Linked DNA regions of Homo sapiens: regions 2 and 3 are each linked to region 1. Evidence: promoter capture Hi-C in 16 types of primary human blood cells and fetal thymus (Javierre and others, 2016). All regions are on one chromosome and are shown on one strand. The core of a region is centred on a gene start or on the middle of the fragment in contact, and the rest is flanking DNA. Distances in the headings are between cores, read along the strand shown.

The links. The method cuts DNA at HindIII sites, captures the fragments that hold promoters and counts their contacts. A CHiCAGO score of 5 or more calls a contact.
Region 2: a fragment that was not itself captured here is called in contact with the fragment with the promoter of XRN2 in region 1 in 2 of 17 cell types (activated CD4 T cells and naive CD8 T cells); the score reaches 6.4 in activated CD4 T cells.
Region 3: a fragment that was not itself captured here is called in contact with the fragment with the promoter of XRN2 in region 1 in 1 of 17 cell types (activated CD4 T cells); the score reaches 7.2 in activated CD4 T cells.

What each region holds. Positions count from the first base shown.
Region 1 is chr20:21,301,114-21,304,580 of GRCh38, forward strand. It overlaps XRN2 (5'-3' exoribonuclease 2), which reads left to right and starts at 2,218. Exons shown (of 30, transcript NM_012255.5): 1 at 2,218-2,360. The coding sequence starts at 2,286. RefSeq lists a silencer at 1,916-2,045 and an enhancer at 2,766-2,815. The HindIII fragment of the contact is 6,284 bases long and covers 1-3,467 here.
Region 2 is chr20:20,715,216-20,718,501 of GRCh38, forward strand. No RefSeq gene overlaps it. Among named protein-coding and RNA genes, the nearest start is that of RALGAPA2, 4.2 kb to the left of the region's middle. The HindIII fragment of the contact is 3,801 bases long and covers 1-3,152 here.
Region 3 is chr20:20,694,362-20,697,635 of GRCh38, forward strand. The region is part of intron 1 of RALGAPA2 (Ral GTPase activating protein catalytic subunit alpha 2); the gene reads right to left. Among named protein-coding and RNA genes, the nearest start is that of RALGAPA2, 17 kb to the right of the region's middle. The HindIII fragment of the contact is 809 bases long and covers 1,198-2,006 here.

The DNA of each region.
Region 1 (3,467 bases), core at 968-3,467:
AGAATTTAGCCCAAGCCAGCTTAGGGCAAAAGGAAACTTTTGGCTGGGAGTGGTGGCTCACACCTGGAATCCCAGCACTTTGGGAGGCCAAGGCGGGCGGATCACAAGGTCAAGAGATTGAGACCATCCTGGCCAACATGGTAAAACCCCATCTCTACTAAAAATACAAAAATTAGCCGGGCGTGGTGGCGCACATTGGTAGTCCCGGCTACTTGGGAGGCTGAGGCAGGAGAATCGCTTGAACCTGGGAGGTGGAGGTTGCAGTGAACCGAGATGGTGCCACTGCACTCCAGCCTGGCAACAGAGTGAGACTCTGTCTTAAAAAAAAAAAAAAAAAAAAATTTGGCTCACAGAATCAAAGGACAGACTTAATCAAACTGCAGGAAGAGAGGGATTTAACTGGAACCAGGGAATTAACCCTGCTTCTCTCATTGCCTACTGGCAACAAGTCCCAATTCTTATCTTTTAGCGTTCACGCACTGGAAAGATGCAGTCTTAAATTTCTTATGGTTCAAAGCTCAAAAATGCTGGTAAGGCTGGGTGCAGTGGCTCACACCTGTAATCCCAGCACTCTGGAAGGCCGAGGTGGGCAGATCACCTGAGGTTAGGAGTTCGAGACCAGCCTGGCCAACATGGTGAAACCCTGTCTCAACTAAAAACACAAAAATCAGCGGGGTGTCATGGCAGGCGCCTCTAATCCCAGCTACTCGGGAGGCTGAGGCAGGAGAATCGCTTGAACCCGGGAGGTGGAGGTTGCAGTGAGCCTGGATCTTGCCACTGCACTCCAGCCTGGATGACTGAGACTCCGTCTGAAAAAACAAAAACAAAACAATAAACCCTCCCAACCCGCCAAAATGCTGGTTAAGGATTCTAAATGGCTCAACTTGGCCAGCTGTCTATCCCTGAACTGCCTATGGTGTACATGTTCCTATAACAGCACCTCCCAGGGAAACCAGAGGGGCTGCTTCCAGGTAAAAGGAGGAATTTCACCATAGACATAATACTTTGGAATAGTTTTGGCTATCCTTAAGTAAAACACGGGATGACTATTTCTCTAATTTCCACACTAGTAGTTTAAACAAAGTAGTCATCAGACCACAGAGGAGGGGGCAATAAATACTGCCTGTGAGGTAACTCGGCGAAATACTTTCACAGAGGCCTCATGAGGTGAGCATTTAGCATCGTGTGTGATGTGTGTCAAACCAAGAGGGGATTCAGGGAGACTTCCAGGCTTGAGCAAACGGACAAATATACCTCCTCTTCCAGACCTCTCCTTTCATATGGAAAAAATTCGTTTGGGACCACCAGAAAACAAAAGATAAAAGTATCGTGTTAGAACAAGGATGGATTAAAAATGACCTTTGCTTGAACTGAAACAGAAGCTATGTGCATAAGTGACTTAACTCCTCTGTAACTTGGCTTTCTTATCATTTACACGAGGGTGCTAACAGTACCCTCACAAGGTTCAAGTGAAGATTACATAGGACAATCCCTTAGTCAATGTCTTGGTACACTGTAAAGGCTCAGTAAATGCTGGAAAATCATATTAGCAACTATTTTATACCCGTAATTGTAGCTGGAAGATTGTATTGGATGCTAAATACCGGCTAGATTCCATTCGGTAACTATCATAATTATTTATTTGCATAACAATCAAATTATTGGTGCAAAGCAGCCATTATTACTGTAAAATGCTTTAAAATGCTCCTTTTGATAGTCCAGGTACGTACTGCAGCACAAAACTAGGAGAAACCAGGAAATGGAAGTAACGAGTAAGTTTGGATGCTTCGATTCTACCCTAGATTGAGACGGGTGAGCATAGAGGCAAAAAAAGACATTTTCTTCCAAACAAGAGGTGACCAAACGGGCAAGGGAGACCTCCTCCCGGGCATGCAGAGCGCAGCGATTCTGTGCCCAGGGAGCCGGAGGGCTGGGGCTGGGAGATCCCGGCGGAGCCCCGGCAGAGCAGTCGCCCGTGAGCCCCCGCAACTCAGACGCGCTCGGCCTCGCGCTCCGGGGCTGGGACCACCGAGGGCGAGCTGCAGCCTTCGCCACCCGGTCCGCCGCCGGACTCCGCCTCCCACAAACAGCCCGGCAAGGCCCTTTTCCGCCGCTCCCTCATCCAGCGAAGCCTCCTTCCCAGCTTCCCCGGCGGCGGCGCCGTGACGTCACTTCCGTTCTCCAGCGCGCACGTGGGAGGAAGTGCTGGTGCCCTCTGCCGCTGCTCCCGTCTCTTTGGTTACGCTCGTCAGCCGGTCGGCCGCCGCCTCCAGCCGTGTGCCGCTATGGGAGTCCCGGCGTTCTTCCGCTGGCTCAGCCGCAAGTACCCGTCCATCATAGTCAACTGCGTGGAAGAGAAGGTGAGGAGGCGCCAGGCGGCCGCCACACTCGAGCCCGGGCCCCCGGCACGTCTAGGCCGCGGCCCATGGGCTCCGCCGCCTGCCCCCGGGGAGCCTTGCCGGAGCTCGCGCCCTGCTGCCAGCCTCGCGAGCAGTCGCAGCCCCACACGCGATGGGACGCGGGCTGTGGGATTCAGCACCCCGGGGGCGAGGAATTCAGGACCCTCGGCGGGGCAAGGGCCTATAGGGTTCCGAACTCGCAGGAGGGTCGCTCCTCCCCTACTCGCTTTTTCCCGGCACCGGAAGGCCCCGCCCACTGCTTTGTTTCCTCTCCAGACCGCGCATTTTGGGTCTCGGAAGAGGTTCAGAGGCTGTTGTTGAGCAATGCATGCCAGGTCAGCTGAGCTAGCGGGTTATGGATGCACGGATTCGGAGGCCAGCTTTTTGACAACCTTGTAAAGGAATCCCTGGCGGCGACCTTTTCGTTGTTTACCAATTGTGCCGGAAAGGTTTTCTCCTAGTGTTCAGGACCATTTGTTGTTCTGGTTAGATTGGACGCTGAAAGCAGTATGTCAGGTCCAGGATGAGCGCTATAGAATTCTGAGAAGTTACCCTTCTCTGTGTGCCCTGACTACTGAACGGGGTGGGTGCTTGTTGAAAATTTCAAGATTACTGGATGTACTTGAGCAGTACAATTTTTGTTGTTAGTTAATACGTAAGTAGATTTTTGGCCATTATTGAGTTTTGTTTTTATTGTTTTCGTCATTCCATGCGGATTCGATTTTGTGCTCTTAATTAGAATTTCTGGATTGGAAACGTTCAGAGGCACATCACGCGTACCTCACTCCTTAGTTTTTGAAGGCAGTGCTTGCCTGTCACTGTGAACTTATTTCTGCTTTTTTTTTTTTTTTTAACTTTCTTGGCTTCTATCCAAGGAGGAACCAAAAGCCTTGTCTTAGTGACATTCCCACTATTTCTTGTTTTTTTCAAAAAGCAACTGCTAAATTGAATACTTGTTTCCTTTGTAAAATTTTAATCGAACTTTATTGAACTTTACTTGCACGTGGGTTAAACAAAAAGCAACAGTTCTTGCTCTACCCCTTCTCATCCCATTTCTCCACCTTTAAC
Region 2 (3,286 bases), core at 2-2,501, 590 kb before region 1:
AGGCTGGAGTGCAGTGGAGCTATCTCGCCAGGTCCAAACGATTCTCCTGCCTCAGCCTCCCGATTAGCCGGGATTACAGGCGTGCGCAACCACGACTGGCTAATTTTTTTGTATTTTTAGTGGAGAGGGGGTTTTGTCATGTTGGCCAGGCTGGTCTTGAACATCTGACCTCAGGTGATCCATGGGCTTTGGCCTCCCATGTTTTGTTGTTTTTTTTTTTTTTTGACAGTCTTGCTCTGTCCCCCAGGCTGGAGTGCAGTGGTGTGATTTCAGCTCACTGCAACTTCTGCCTATCAGGTTCAAGCGATTCTCCTGCCTCAGCCTCCTGAGTAGCTGGAATTACAGGCATGTGCCACCATGCCTGGCTAATTTTTGTATTTTTAGTAGAGACAGAGTTTCACCATGTTGGCCAGGCTGCTCTTGAACGCCTGACCTCAAGTGATCCACGGGCCTCAGCCTCCCAGAATGCTGGGATTACAGGTGTGAACCACCACACCCAGCCAGAATTTTGACTTCTAGGAATCTACCCTGCAGATATTCTAATATATAACACTGGAAGGATTTAAAAAAAAACCTTAACATTAATGCCTACCTAAGTGGGATAGAGGATGAGGTGGAAAGGACTCAGTGTCCTCTCTGAGTATATCTTTTTATATTTTTTTCATTTTTGAACCATGTAAATGTTTTCCATATTCAAAAATTGAAACAGAAAAAGACAAGCCTGAAAATAAAAAATAAATGGAAAAAATAAAACTAACAATATATGTAATTGGTAGGATAACTCTATGGAGAAATAAATATAAAACCATGCATGGAAGTTTATTCCTTTCACCACTATTTATAATAGCCAATGTAGTGGGTTGAACAGTGCCCACCCTTCCCCCCAAAAAGATATGTCTATGTCCTAATCCCTGAAAACTGTGACTGAGACTTTATTTGGCAGAAGGATCTTTGCAAATATAATAAGATCCTCAGTTATCTGGGTAGACCCTAAATCCAATGACAAATGTGCTTGTAAGAAACAAAAGAAGTGAAAACATAGAAACAAAGGAGAAGGGCACATGAAGACCAAGGTAGAGATTGAGGTTATGGAGCCACAAACGAAAAGACCCTTATAGCCAAGAGAAACTGGAAGAGGCAAGAAAGGATTCTCCCTTGGAGTCTTCCAGAGGAAGCCCAACACCTTGATTTCAGACTTCAGGATTCCAGAACCGTGAGAAAATAAATTTCTGTTGTTTTAAGCCACGCAATTTGTGGTAATCTGTTGCAGCCACTCTAGAAAACGAGTATGACCAGATACCAGAGAGAACCCTGTGATTGTCTAACAAGGTACTTATATACACATACATCTATAAGTGGCTAATTTAATCCAGTTCATCCACACAGTGTAGCACTATGGAGTACTATGCAGCTGTTTAAAAATAATGGGAAAATTTCGCGTGTACTGACTTGACATAATTTTCCAGATACGTTGTTAAATATAAAAGGAACAGAATATTAAAAATTTTTTTTTCAAAAAGAAACACTGGAAGGATAAATAAAAAGCTAACATCAATTCCTACCTAAGTGGGATGGAGGATGAGGTGGAAAGGAATGAAACAGGGTCCTCTCTGAGTATACCTTTTTATATTTTTTTCACTTTTGAACCATATAAATGTTTTACATATTCAAAAATTAAAATAGAAAAAGACAAACCTGAAAATCAAAAATAAATGAAAAAATAAACCCAACCGTATATGTAATTGGTAGCATAACTATATAGAGAAAATAATTATTTCAAGTGATTTTTGAAAACAGTATTCTGATTGTACCTCCTTAGAGGGATGTATTCTAAGGGCAAAAAGATCTGCAAAGAATTAATAATTATTATTAAGAACCAAGATTTTCAGTGTAAGAGAAAGGAGATACAAAAATATCACATCAAAGAAAATGTGAAAACTCTGTAATACTAGATTTTACTTCAAATATCCATTTGAACTCATAATTTAAAAATACAGCATGTGTTGGCCAGGCGTGGTGGCTCACGCCTGTAATCCCAGCACTTTGGAAGGCCAAGGCAGGTGGCTGAGACTATCCTGGGCAAGATGGTGAAACCCTGTCTTTACTACAAATGCAAAAATTAGCTGGGCGTGGTGATGCATGCCTGTAATCTCAGCTACTGGGGAGACTGAGGCAGGAGAATCGTTTGAACCAGGGAGTTGGAGGTTGCAGTAAGCCGAGATGGCACCACTGCACTCAGTCTGGTGACAAAGCGAGACTCCATCTCAAAAAAAAAAAAAAAAAAAACTAAACAAAAACAAACAAACAAATGTCATACATGAATGAAATGAATGAATAAAAAGAAGGCCATACATTCTTTTCTATTTGCTGGACGCAGTGGCCCACACCTGTAACCCCAGCACTTTGGGAGGCCGAGGCAGACGGATCACTTGAGGTCAGGAGTTCGAGATCAGCCTGGCCAACATGGTGAAACCCTGTCTCTACTAAAAATACAAAAGTTAGCTGGGTGTGGTGGCAGGCACCTGTAATCCCAGCTACTTGGGAGGCTGAGGCTGGATTGCTTGAACTGAGAGTCAGAGGTTGCAGTGAGCCAAGAACACGCCAGGGCACTCCAGCCTGGGCCACAGAGCAAGACTTCATCTAAAAAAAAAAAAAAGAAAAGAAAAAGAAAAAAAACAGATATGCAGTTGTCCAACAATATTTATAAAAAGACTTTTTTTTTTTTTTTTGAGATGGAGTCTTGCTCTGTAGCCCAGGCTGGAGTGCAGTGGCACATCTCGGCTCACTGCAAGCTCCTCCTCCTGGGTTCATGCCATTCTCCTGCCTCAGCCTCCCAAGTAGCTGGGACTACAGGCGCCGGCCACCATGCCCGGCTAATTTTTGTTTTTTTAGTAGAGACGGAGTTTCACTGTGTTAGCCAGGATGGTCTCGATCTCCTGACCTCGTGATCCATCCGCCTTGGCCTCCCAAAGTGCTGGGATTATAGGCGTGAGCCACCGCACCCGGCCTATAAAAAGACTTTCTTTCCCACATTGAATTAACTTGGAGCATTGGTCAGTTATCAATCAACCGTGTACGTATCTATTTCTGGATTCTCTGTTCTGTTTCATTGATCCAGTTGTTTAATCCTAGACCATTACCCCTCTGTCTTAAGCTTTATTGAAAGTCTTGATTTCAGGTAATGTATATTATCTTTGTTCAAGATTATTTTGGGTATCTAGGTCCTCTCCAATTCCATATAAATTTTAGAATCAGTTTGCCTATTTCCTTAAAAAAAAAAATCTGC
Region 3 (3,274 bases), core at 352-2,851, 610 kb before region 1:
ATGGTGGCATTTCTGTGAAATTAACTCAGTAAAGACTGAAGTGGCTTTCCCCAAGGAACCCTCTTTACCTCCAGGAAATCATCATATTATCCCAGCTTGTGAGCAGCCTCCAATATTGTCATCTCTGCTGTGTCCCTAACACAAGAAAACGAAGGCCCTTCTGGTCACTGGGCAGTCACTCACAGGCACACAATCTGCTAACAGCATGTGAAGGCCTGAAACTCATGACCTGAAGGATGGGTGATAGGGAATTTTGTTATAGGAGTCCAGTGGAACACACTACAGCCATTGAAGTCTTATGTAATTCTTCACTTACTGATGTGGAAAAATATCCAAGGCTTTAAGTCAAAAACACAGTGTTAGACCATGCAGATGACTATTCATGTAAAACCGTGTTTGTGTGTGTAAGCGAGGCAGGTGCAGGGAAGAGAGAGAGAAAGGAATGCACCCAAGCAAGAGCCAGCCTGGAAAGCACGTTCACCGGGATTTCAGTAATGCTTGGCAGGGGACTGCAGAATTTGAGAACCCCTTGATACCTAAATTATTTTTCATATATTCATATTATCCAAATGTTTATAATGAGTATGTAAAATTGTAGAACCAGAAAAAGCTATAAAGCTGTTTTGGGGGGTACTTCCAGGGCGTTCGAGAAAGGGATTTTTTTCAAAGCCTGAATATTTACTGCAAAAAACTCATCAATCATGACACCAGGCCATACTTTTTTCCAAACCTGTCTTACTTTTCAACTTTGAAGAAATCTTAAGACCCAAACAATATATAAAAGAGTATCTTTACCAATTCTAAAATGTTGTAAAAAACAGCAAATGACTTAAATTTTCTCTATCCAACTTTTAAATTACTCCTTCTGTAACAGCACATACATGGTACATAATGCCTTAGAATGACCTAGTTATCTGGAGAAGCTTTGCTGTTTTTGTGTTTCTCTAGACATCATTCACTGAAAAGGATAAAAAATAATAGAACTGGGCAGAAAGACATTTCTCTGTCCAGCCATTCAGCAGCTAGCACTGAGTAGGCATGAGCAAATGTTTGACACTTTTGAATGCAAAGATGTGATGAAATTTCCAGTCACAATGAGACCCATTCCCAAGACCTGGGAGCCTTAGTCCATATGAGTCAACCTTTCCTTGTTGTGCTTAAACCTGACGCTGACTGACTGTCAACTGACAGAACAGAAGCTTCTTCATAGCACACTATAAAAGTGCTAAAGACCTGGTTTATGCTCAGAAATGATGTCTCTGGAAGAATACAAATGATTGTCCTCCTGTATGTAGCTAACCTAATACTGTCATATTTTGAAACACCACAGCCACCTTTCTGAGTAAGACATAAGGTTCAGTTAGCAACACTGGTTCATAGAATTACATCTTTGCAATTAACACTGAGCCAAAGATTAAGATTCCCTCAGGTCTTTCCATTGAGAAAAGACCAACATAAAGCACAACTGGGGTCCTAATTTGGGTGGATATCTGATGTGGAGCCAATCTGCAGTGTTTGCTGCCTTTGCAACCATTCATATTAAATTGTTGTTGTACTGACCCATCAACATTTTTCTGGTCTCATTCTTCTCCAGCCACTGACAGATCTCCATTTTTTTTTTGTCAGCATCAAGGGCACTTTTTAATATGCCTGCTCTCTGCCTGTCAGTAGATTTGGGGATAACAGCAAGCCCGTCTCCATATTGTTACAAGCTCAGGCCGCTGTGTGGGCCCATTACATGGCCCAATGTACTCCAGCTTTCCTGTCCCACTGGCCACAAAGTGTTTCCGTCCTGTCTTCTCATCACTACTCGCTGCTGCAGTAAGGAGGGACACAGGCTGCCTGTCCCCATCTTCCTTAACACCTTTGCTTGCTACAGATTCCACAGCCACTCATTCCTCTTCTCTGGCACTTCTTTCTCTCTCTTCCCTCTTCTCTTGTCTGCCTCCAGTCACTGGTCGGTTTTTGGGCCAAAGATCTGACCTTTTATAAAGTAAGCCAAAGAAAGCTTTGTTACAAAGCTTGTGGTCAGAAAACCTATCTCTGGCAAGCTAACCAAGCAAGTGTAGTCTCTATGAGGGAACCACATTGATTCCTTTACACCTAAAGGTCAGTTCAGATCACTCCTCTGCTCTTTGCTTCACTGGAGTGCCCCATCTTATCTTACTTAGAGTAACATCCCAAGTCCTTACTGGGATGCCAAAGTTCCACACCATCTTATCCCTATTTCCCCTCTCCCACCCCCGCTCCTTTCCCAGTTCCTTCTATCCTCCACCCCTCCACCCCTATTGACTTCCATGAGATTTCCAGTCTATTTATGACTCAGATCCTGGTACTTACTGTTCCTTCTGCTTAGAACACTATTCCCCAAAAATAATCACAAAGCTGCTCCCTTGCTTAACCCAGGTCTCAGTCCAAACCTCCCTTCAGAGAGGCCTTCCCTCACCCCAATATCTAAATAAGCATACACATACCCTTATCAAGCTTAATTTTTCTATCATCATTACCTGAAATTGTATCATATATTTATTATTTGGTTTTTTTGTTCTTGATTTTTAGAGATGGGGTCTCACTGTGTTGGCCAGGTTGGTCTTGAACTCCTGGCCTCAAGCAATCCACCTGCCTGGGCCTCACAAAGTACTAGGATTACAGGCATGAGCCACTGCACCCAGCCTGTTATTTATTGTCCATCCACCCTAATAGAATGAAAGTCCCATAAGTGCTAGGGCTTCATCTGCAAATAGCAGACACTCAGTCACTATATGTGGAATGACTTTAAAAACAGTGGAAACAGTCTAAGCTATGTAGACTTAAAGAGTGGTCAATCCCATTTGTTAAAAGGGCAACGCTTTACTTCCATCAAACTAGAAAAATAATCCTCTCACTTGAGCCTGGGAGAGCAAGGCTGCAGTGAGCTGTGATCACACCACTGCACTCCAGCCTGGGTGACAGAGTGAGACCTCCATCTCAAAAAAAATTTTTTAATTAAAAAAATAGAAAAATAATCCTCAAATATGACTCCCATAATCTTAAATAGAATTTACAGAATGTCATCTAAGGTTTGCTCAATGTTTTATGATTATTAGCACAAAAGTCAATGAATGTCATGTGGTACAAATGGGCGTGGGCAGAGCTATAAGCAGTTCTGTTGTGGGAGGTAATGTGCCAGAATGCCTTTCCTCTACTTTCTCGGAAAGACAGGAGCCAGAATGAGGTTCTATCTCTAGGAACAGGACAAGTGATCCAGGCTGACCAATCACAGTACCCCATCTCC